3 separate regions of the Homo sapiens genome follow, and all the other regions are linked to region 1. Evidence: promoter capture Hi-C in human tissues and cell types (Jung and others, 2019). All regions are on one chromosome and are shown on one strand. The core of a region is centred on a gene start or on the middle of the fragment in contact, and the rest is flanking DNA. Distances in the headings are between cores, read along the strand shown. Region 1 holds the start of LRP8 (LDL receptor related protein 8). Region 2 holds the start of LINC02812 (long intergenic non-protein coding RNA 2812). Region 3 has its middle 22 kb from the start of LINC02812.

Region 1 (3,177 bases), core at 1-2,500:
CCCCACCGTTCCTTTTCTCTCCCCGGGTCTGAGCTCCCTGGCCCGCCACTCACGGCAGTCGTCCTCGTCGCTGTGGTCTAAGCAGTCATCGTCCTCGTCGCATCTCCACACAGAGGGGATGCAGCGCTCGTTCCGGCACTGGAATTGGTCCTTTTCGCAATCCTTGGCCGGCCCTGCGAGGGGGAGGGAGCGTGAGCTGGATCAGCGGACTCGGCCCCACTCCCCACCATGCAGTCCGGGCCACCCGGAAGGACCCGCTGGGGAGGAGGAAAGGGGGCGATTATGGAGACCCCGGGGGCTTCAGGCACACTCCATCCAAAGGGAGGGCACGATGGCAGGGGTTCCGTGGATGTCGGGCCGCTCGGTGGCACGGCGAGACCAGGCACCTACTTAAAGTGTCACACGACCTGGGTATACCCTCCATTCAGACGCACTCACCCGCACACGCGACCCATAGTCAGAGATCTGCTCAGATACAGCCCATAGGGAGTCCCCGCGCCCGCGCGCCAGGCGCAGTGGGAGCCGCAGGCACATCACCCTGGCAGGCAGCCCCCTCTCTCTCCGCCGCGCGCAGGGGTCTGCGGAAACGCATTGTCAAGCGGAGAAGCCGCCCGGCTCTGCTCATTACCGCCGCGGAGCGCGCGTGTCAAATAAACCCCAACGGCGAGAATCACACAGCTCATCCGGAACCATGAATGGCCGCCCCTCCGGCAAAGTTCCCCGCTGGCCAAGCCCCCCTGCACCCCTCCCCCAAGATCCGCTGCCCAGAGGGCAGAGCCCTCAACACCGAGGCCCGCGGGGGCGGGGGGCCGAGGGCAAATTCAGGAATAGCCGCTTCGCGTGGAGCCTGTCCGCCCGGGAGCCCCCGATAGCCCCGGGTTCTGGACCCCTCCCCGCTCCGGCCTCCCGGCCGCGCTTTGTTGGTGGCTAGGGCGGAGCAGAGCCGAGTCAGAGACCGGCTGCACGCACCTTGGCCGCCGAGCAGCGGATCAGCCGCTGCCGCCGCAAGATGCTGGAGCTGCAGCAGCAGCAGCAGCAGCAGCAGCAGCAGCAGCGCCAGAAGCCGGAGAGGGCCCGGCTCGGGGAGGCCCATGGCGGGCCCGGGGCTCCGGCCGCCGCGCCCCGCGCTCCCCGCGCCGCCGCCGCCGCGTCTCAGCCCTCCGAGTCCTTGCCGCGGCGCCGGGGTTGCCGCTGCCCCCGCCGCCGCCGCCGCCGCCGCTGCCGCCCGCCCCGGCTCCTCGGCTGCATTTCAAGCAGGTTCGGTGACGCTCGGCGGCGGGGCGGGCTCAGGCTGGGCGCGCGGCCCCGGCCCTGGGCGGCCGCCGCCAGCGCGCGCGCTCCCTCCCGCTGCCGCCTCCGCCCCACGCTCCCCCTGCCGCCGCCTCCTCGCCCTCCTCCCTCCTGTCTTTCGTCCACTCTTCTCTCAGCGGGCGCTCCACGGCCCTGCTCTGGGCTCGCCTGAGTGCTGGGCTCTGCAGACGCAGGGATGGGCCAGGCGAGCCCCTCACCACGGAGGTAGCAGGTCCAGAGGAAGCAGCAGAGGCTTCCTGGAGGAGGTGACAGGCGGATCAGAGGCTGAGGGATGTCTAGGAGTGAGCCTGGGCGGGAGGGGAAATGATGTTACAGGACGAACAGGCCTGTGCAGTGTGCGCGTGGGGCGGGGGAGGGAGGGATAGGGGTGAGATCCCAAGATGTGGATGAGCAGGGAGAAGCTGGGGGCGCAGGGCTGGACCCCTGCACCTGTCATGGGCTCCGGCTGGGATATTATAAATCCCTGTGGCTGGTTTGGTTTCCGTGCCATGTGCATCTGTGCATGTTGCACGCTCATGTGATCATGGGGACGTGAGGCAGGTGGATTGGGCCTGGTGCACAGACTATTCATCGTCGTTAAGTACGCTCCAGGCCCCTAGTCAGAGGGGCAACCAGGGGGGGCCCGCAGGGAAGACAAGGAATCCTCGCTGTGATGGAGAAAGACGAGGTCTGTGGGGCGGGCCGGGCGGGGGGGAAGGGGAGGGCACGGAAGGGATGCCATCCCTGCCGCTAGGGGCCGCGCACCTAGGCCCGCGCTGTCCGCCCCTGCTGTCTTCTGCAGGAAGGAGAAGGCACCTCTTCCTCTGGAGGGCTGCAGCCCGCCTCACCCACACTGGGGAGAATGGGTGCGGAGAGCGAGCTGGGATTCGATTTCAGCCTCAGACTTGTGAGCCGGGTCCAACCCACACAACCTTCTTTAGAGAATGAGATTCCAGGGCATTGGCCACTCAAAACAACCGGCCTGCAGGTGCCAAGAGCCAGTGTTAGGTCCACCCTCCCTCCCCTCTTGCCCCTTCACCTCCCTCGCGGATGGGCAGGTGCTGTTAGCCCTTGGCCTGGAAACCACCCTGTCTCCTCAGCAGCCTCCTGAGCCGTAGTCCCCCAAAGGGCAGCCCAGCGGCAATATCTGTGGCCACCCCACCAGAAAGGGACTTAGATCCCCAGAGAGCCCGGCACGGTGCTCCTGCCATCATCACCCCTCCTGTCCCTTGTTCATTCAGTCATTCAGCAAGCATTTCAGGCCCTGTTCTGTGCCAACCCTGTGCTGGGCCTGCGGGTACCAAGGTGAATCAGGCATGGTGCCAGCCCCGGAGAGGTCCCTGACCTGTGGGGAGACAGACCATTAGCACACAGACAACGAAATGCAGGCGTCCTTTCACCTATATGTGCCAAACGCCCTTCAAGGCTCAAGGATACAGTGGAAACAGATAAGGTTCCTCCCTGCTCTCCTGCAGTTATGTCTTAGTTGGAAGAGATACACACAAAAGCAGGAAAACAAAAGATTATTTCAGGTCATCATAACTTCTATGGAAAAAACAAAACAGACCCAGGTGAGAGCAATGGGGGTAACTGTAGAGGTGATCAGGCAAGGCCTCACAGAGGAGGTGACATTTCACTGAATGGCAAGATGGATCCTGACCCATGAAGATCAGGCGGAAGGGCATTCTTGGCAAAGGGAATGGCAATCAAGGTGGGCCGGGGCCTGATGACAGGGAAGGAGTGGGTGCCTCAGGTGAGGCTGGAGGGAGTTGGCAAGGCCCTGATCACCAGGGCTTTGTAGGCCACAGCTGGGAGTTTGGATTCTGTGTCAAGCACAATGGTGCCTGGGACTGTGGGATAAAGATAGAAGCCCGTCTTGCTGCCCAA
Region 2 (3,502 bases), core at 454-2,953, 40 kb after region 1:
CTTCTTCTCTAGGTGTGTGTCTCTCCTTCAGCCTCACTCCCCCCGCTTTTTTTTCTTTTTGAAACAGGGTCTTGCTCTGTTGTCCAGGCTGTAGTGCAGTGGCGCAACACTGCTCACTGCAACCTCTGCCTCCCAGACTCAAGCCATCCTCCCATTTCAGCCTCCTGAGTAGCTAGGACTATAGGCATGTGCCACCACGTCTGGCTAGTTCTTTGTGGGGTTTTTTTCTGTTTTTTTTTTTTTTTTTTGTAGAGATGGAGGGTCTCACTACGTTGCCCAGGCCAGTCTTGAACTCCTGGCCTCAAGCTATTCTCCTGCCTTGGCCTCCCAAAGTGCTGGGATGACAGGTGTGAGACACCACACCCAGCCCTGCCTTACTCTTGTAAGGACACTTGCCATTGGATTGAGGGCCCACTTGCATAATACAGGATGATCTCTTCATCTCAAAATCCCTAATGACATCTACAAAGAATTTCTTTCCAAATAAGGCAATATTTACGGGTTCTGGGGCTTAGGACATGGACCTATCCTTTTGGGGCCAGCCATCCAGCCCCCTACAGAGTCCAGTGTGGCTGGTTCCAAAGGTCCCTTCTTGGCTCGCCTTGCAGGCGGGTTCCTCTTCTCCATGGGGTGGTTGGTCCTTGCTCCACATGGAGTTGAGGGGCTTGGGGACTGGCCACTGAAGGCATGCTGCTCACAAAAGCAGTCTGTGGGCACCCTCCCAGACTCAGGATCACCGTGCTGGCTGGAACATAAATGGGCCCTGTTGCAGGCGGGGTTGTCCTGGAACAGATCTTGAGATAGACTTTGACATGGAGGATATTTACTAGAAAAGTCAACACCTGGGGAAGAGATAGGGAGGAAGCAGGATTTGGTAGAGAGAAGGTGAACAGTGACGCAGCTCCAACGGAGTTTCAGCCATCCCTGGAGCCCATGTGGCCCATCTAAATTATCCCATGGGAGGTCAAAATGTCTGCACCTTTACATCGTAGCCATGATCAGTCGCTGGTCAGCCCTTCACGAAACGAGGGCGATGATAGCTCCTAACTCCTAGGTCAGAAGGGTTAAGTGAAATGTCCTGAGCGCTGACAGCTGCCATACACAGCCACCCCTGGAGGGAGTTCTATGGTTATCTTCCCCTTACAGAGGGGAAAAGCCAGCCTCAGAGATGACAAGCAACTTCCCAAGGCCACCCAGCTAGTAATGGCAGAGCCAGGACTTAAACTGAGGTGTGCCTGATGCAGAGCTTGAGTCCCTGAGAGCTGCTGGGGGAACCCAGAAGCCCGGCAGGTGCCTGGCTCCACACCCAGCTCCCTGGCACTCACTTCCCCACACCCCATGCCCTGTGCAGCGTCCTCCCAGTCACTTCCCATCCCCATGCTCCAAGCCCCAGGGCTATCTCCCCAGGGGACCCCATCAGGGGTTGCCTGGCCTCCCTCCCTTCCCCACAACCAGTGATCCAGCCTCCCAGGACCCCTCACAATTCTCCAAGCACGGCCCTCACCTGCCTGCCCCCATGCCCTCTGTCCCCAAGTCCTTTTTCCCCATGCCCTCTTTCCCCTTGTCTTACCTTTTAAAGTGGTACACAGAGGCCTAACTGTCCCAGTCAGATGCAACCTTCTTCACGAAACCCTTTTGACTGGCACTCTCCCTCCCTTCTGTCTCCCAAAAGACTCAATGTCTATCTCAATCACAGCTGAGTTGCCTTGGGTCTGATATGAATCTGCTTCCCCCAACAAACCAAAGCTTCCGGGGAGGGGAGAAAGTACAAGTTAGGAGCTCTCACTCAGCCAGCTGCATGGCCCGAGGCTGGCTGCTTCCTCTTTTCTGAACCTTAGATTGCTTATCTGTAAAATGGAGCTAACAGAGCACATTGCCAGGCACAAAAAAGGTGCTCAGTAAATGCTGTCTCTCAGGCTTTAGCCCGGGTGCAACTTTGTATCTGCCTCCAGGGCTGCAAACACTCCCTGCCCAGCTGTCTCTTTGCTTTTAATTGTCTATTTCCTCCACACTGCCAGTCCTCAGTTTCCCTTCTGTTAAACAGGCTGTCCTAACCATTCCACGCAACGTACCGTGTGGGGACTAGAAGAGGATTAGCCCAGCAGAGGCTTTGTGGGCATGTTGCTTCCTTCTTTTGCCCTTCCAACTGCCTGCCCTTTCCATCCCAGCAATGGATGGGCTGGGAGCCAGCTGGGCCCGGGTGCCTAGGCTCACCATGTGGCATCGGCCTCAGCCATTCCTCCCAGGGCCGCAGCCACTCTTCACCCCTAGGAGAAACTGTGGGGTCCTGGCAGGGGCGGGAGGCGGCTCTAGGGACGCAGCTCTGCCCTTGACTGGGAATGACGCCAAGGCTGCTGCTGCCTGCTGACAGTCTATCCTGCTGCCCAGTCCGCTGGCGGCAGACCCTCTCTCTTCCTCCTCCCACAGTCCCACCCACAGCCTGAGCCCTGGGGTTCAGCCTGCTCAGGTCCACTCTGACGGGGCTAAGCAGAGCTCCCCAGTCCAGGAAGCCCAGACACCATCAGGCTCTGTGGCCCTGGCAAGTCCTGCCAGTGTTTAGGAGGTGACCAGAACCAGTTCTGACAACCCAAGAAGCTGGAGCACAAATACCCCTTCCTGAGCCTGCCACCTGCAGTGTGAAGGGCCCGAGCAGTGACTCTGAAGCCAGCCTTCACCACAATCAGCTGTGTCTCTGGGCAAGTTATCTAATCCTCCGTGCGTCTTTGTCTGTAAAGTGGAGTAACAGTGTCTACCCCGCAGGGCTGGTATGTGGACTAAATGAGGTAATACACAGGTGACTCTCGGGACAACAGAGCCCCTGGGAAGCACTTCATGAGGATTAGCCATTATTATTTCACCTGTGTTCTGCATGTGGAGAGGGCAGCAACTATGGTCCCCACTGGCAGTAAGGCAACTGAGGCCCAGAAAGGGCCCACAATTGTGGCTGGGCCCCACCCCTGGCCTCTTCGTTTCCTAGGCTACCGCAGCATCCACCACACCAGCTCTCTACGTCAAGGTCCTCTGGGGTTCATGAGCACCTCCTGTGTGCCGAGCGCTAGAGGGTCTGGCACCAGCCCAGACTGGACAGCTCTGAGGCCATAGGAGGAGAGCTTGGGCTTCACTGCATGCAGGTGGTTTATGGTAAAGCCACAGGCTGGGTGCAGTGGCTCACGCCTGTAATCCCAGTACTCTGGGAAACCAAGACAAGAGGATCTCTTGAGGCCAGGACTTTGAGGCCAGCCTGGGCAACATAGCAAGACCCCATCTCTATAAACAATAACAAAAAATTAGCTGGGTGTGGTGGTGCTTTCCTGTAGTCCTAGCTACTCGGGAGGCTGGGGCAGGAGTATCATTTGATCCCAGGAGAGACCAGGACATTCAGCCAAGGTCACAGAGCCGACACATGGCAGCCAGGTCTCCAACCTGCCTGGCTTGAGCCCTTTGCCCCACACTGGTTCCCAAACATAAATGTCTCAAGGACACCCAAAACACAGCCCACCAG
Region 3 (3,199 bases), core at 637-3,136, 63 kb after region 1:
ATTTTTAAAACTGAGCAAAAGATTTGAACAGACATTTCACCAGAGAAGATGTATGAATGGCAAATGAGCACATCGAAGATGCCCCGGATCATTGGGTCATTAAAAGACAGCAGATTAGAACCACAAGGAGACACCACTACACACCTGCCAGGACAGCTCGGATTTGTGTCCCATTGCGTCAGCCCCCAGGCAGCACAGTCAGTGTGGTGCACCAGCTCCCAGTGTGTGCAGGAGGCCATCTGCCTCTCCTCACCTACAATGTCCAGCCTGGCACTCCTAGTACCCACCTGCCATGTTAAGGAGTTCACTCCACCCCATTTGGCAAGGACAGTGTCTGGATCCCAGGCTGGGGGTGGGGGGAAGTGTGGGAGAAAGGGGAAGGGGAAGAAATAACAAAGGAGACTGGTGGATGGTGGCAGCAGTTGTGGCCCAGGGGTGGGGAGGGGGGTGGGTGAGTCTGGTTCCCAGCAGGCGCCAGCAGTGTCAGGGAGCTTGGGGGCTGTCTTAGTCCATTCAGGTGGCTATAACAAAATACTGTAGACTGGGTAATTTATAAACAATACCAATGTATTGCTCACAGTTCTGAAGGCTGGAAAGTCCAAGATTGAGGTGCTGGCAGGTTTGGTGTCTGGCGAGCGCCTGTTCCTTATGGACCGCAACTTCTTGCTGTGTCTTCATTTGGTGGAAGGAGCAAAGAAGGCCCCCTGAGGATCTGTTTTGTCTCTTTAATAGAGACGGGGTTTCACCATGTTGCCCAGGCTAGTCTCAAACACCTGGCCGGAAGTGATCCACCCTTGGCCTCCCAAGTGCTGGGATTATGGGTATGAGCCACCACGCCCGGCCCCGAGCATCTTTTTAAGGGCATGAGCCCCATTTATGAGGGTGGAACCCTCATGACTTAATCACCTCTTTATATTATCCCATTGGGTATTAGGTTCCAACATATGAATTTTGGGGGAACACCAACATTCAGATCACAGCAGGAGCCAGGAGGATGGGTAAGAATGAGCAGAACCAGCCAGTGTGAGGGCATGGACTCAGCAAGCCCTGAGGAAGAACAAAGGGCAGATCTGAGAACTTAGCAGGCAGCCTCAAAAGGACTTGAGGAGTAGCTGGATTTGAGTGGGTTTGGGGGACAGAGAGAAGGACCTGCCAGGGGGTCAAGATCATGTAATCCACCAAGGCAGAGAGTATGAGGAGCAGGAACGTGAAAAGACACCAGCTGCCACATCCCAATTGTGCAGTCTGGGTGCCCCTGGGCATCCTGGTGCTTGCCCAGTGGGCCACTGGTCGTGTGTGTCTGCGGGTCAGAGAGCTCCAGGCCTGAGCAGACAGCATGATGGTCAGCAGAGGGAAGCGTCTGGAAGCCTTGAGAGTGGAGACATTGCCTCGGGAGGAGGCAGAGGAGCCAGGGCCAGGTGCCAGGGGACACATACATTAAGGGAACACCAGGCTCTCGAAAAGGGAAATGAAACCAAGTGGCCTGTTTTCCTGCCAGCTCCTCCCTGGCTGTGACTTGAGACAGCAGAAGGAGGAGAAGGGGAGTGGGGAGGACTCTGGCCCTGAAATTGGAGGAGACAGGCCTCACAGAGGCACCAGACAAAGGCACCCCCTCCAAGGAACTCACCAACCTGGTTTCCTAATGTTCCAATCTATGTGTTTTTTTGTTTTGTTTTGTTTTTTTTTTAAAGAAGTTGGGCCAAATTCCAATCTGTAGTCCACCAGCCCTTCTGCTCTTTCCCTTTTCCTTCACTCATGGACCCAGAAGTTACCGAGTGCCTACCACCAGGCTGCTGCTGGAATACCCTGGGGAATGAATCAGACATAGTCTCTGCCCTTAGGGACGGGCGTTCCAGGCTGGTGGCAGCCAGGTTAACAAGGGGGCTGGCAGTGACTCCCACAGGGCTCTCTGGAGGGTCAGCTCCAAACCCTTTTCTTCTCTGTTTCCAGCATTTTGTTCTCCCTTAACATAGGTGCCCCTCAGCGCATGGGCCCGCCTCCTCTGCCACACTCTCCCATCTCCCGGGGAACATCTCCACCCTCGAAGCTTTCAGCCGCTCCCCTCTGCTGACCACTCAGCTTACTCAGGCCCAGAGTTTTTTCCTTTCTTTCCTTCTTTTTTTTTTTTTTTTTTTTTTTTGAGACAATGTCTCCTTCTGTCAACCAGGCTGGAGTGCAGTGGCAGGATCACGGCTCACTGCAGCCTCCACCTCCCAGGCTCAAGCAATCTTCGTGCCTCAGCCTCCCAAGTAGCTGGGGCTACAGGCATATGCCACCACACCTAGCTAATTTTTTTCATTTTTTGTGGAAACAGGGTTTCATCATGTTGCCCAGGCTGGTCTTGAACTCCTGGGCTCAAGCAATCTTCCCACTTTGGCCTCCTATAATAAAATGCTGGGATTATAGGTGTGAGTGACCACACTCGGCCTCCTGGAGCTTTCTGACCCTCAGACACACACAGCCAGAGGCCCACTGGACAAATGCCAGGATGCCCAGGGGCACCCAGATTACATATTTGCCAAGTGGAAGTTGGTGTCTTTCCACATGCCCACACCTCATAGTCTCTGCCTCTGTAAATGGAAGACTGTCCCCTGCCCCCACTAACTCATCCTCACTTCTCTCTCTCCCTCTTCCAACAAATCCAGTCACTCAGGGAGTCCCACTGACAATGCCTGCGGAGTTCTTCTTGGATCTGGCTACATCTCTCTCCCTAGTACCTGTTCAAGTTCAGGCCCTCATATCTGATTGGTTCCCTCTCACTTCCATCTTTCTTTGGTCTTAAATCTCCCTAGTATGTAGTATGTAGTATGCAGCAGATAGGAGATTTTTAGTTGCAAGTGACATAAACCTAACTCAAATTAGCATAAGCAAAAAATTGAATGTATTGGCTCACATAACTAAAAGGCTCAGGTTCGCTTCGGGCATGGCTGGATCCAGCAGATAAGCAAAGTCAAGAGGACCTGGTCCCTCTGCTTTGCCATTTTCTTAATCAACATAATTCCCTGGCACACTCTCTCCATGGGCTGGTCTCATTTTTCCCACATCAAGGCCAGCAGAGAGAGATTTTTTTTTTTTTTTTTTTTTTTTTTTACAGATCTAACCAGAATCCAGCTGCATTTCATTGACTGTGACTGGGTTGCACAGTCATCCCTACACTAGTCACTGGGCACAGTGTATGCAGTACTCTAATGGGGCATGT

Evidence for each region. Contacts are between HindIII fragments. The study calls those that stand out against the background at their distance.
Region 2: a fragment that was not itself captured here is called in contact with the fragment with the promoter of LRP8 in region 1 in 4 of the 25 tissues and cell types used here (mesenchymal stem cells, mesendoderm cells, stomach and 1 more).
Region 3: a fragment that was not itself captured here is called in contact with the fragment with the promoter of LRP8 in region 1 in 2 of the 25 tissues and cell types used here (aorta and hippocampus).

What each region holds. Positions count from the first base shown.
Region 1 is chr1:53,326,820-53,329,996 of GRCh38, forward strand. LRP8 (LDL receptor related protein 8) reads right to left here and starts at 1,251. Exons shown (of 19, transcript NM_004631.5): 1 at 970-1,251; 2 at 54-173. The coding sequence starts at 1,093. LRP8-DT (LRP8 divergent transcript) reads left to right here and starts at 1,414. Exons shown (of 3, transcript NR_131923.1): 1 at 1,414-1,556. RefSeq lists silencers at 1-232, 748-917, 968-1,117, 1,188-1,387 and enhancers at 298-407, 1,458-1,687. The HindIII fragment of the contact is 17,458 bases long and covers 1-3,177 here.
Region 2 is chr1:53,366,436-53,369,937 of GRCh38, forward strand. It overlaps LINC02812 (long intergenic non-protein coding RNA 2812), which reads right to left and starts at 1,714. Exons shown (of 2, transcript XR_001738058.2): 1 at 1,571-1,714; 2 at 1-842. The HindIII fragment of the contact is 5,363 bases long and covers 1-3,502 here.
Region 3 is chr1:53,389,011-53,392,209 of GRCh38, forward strand. No RefSeq gene overlaps it. Among named protein-coding and RNA genes, the nearest start is that of LINC02812, 22 kb to the left of the region's middle. The HindIII fragment of the contact is 5,801 bases long and covers 1-3,199 here.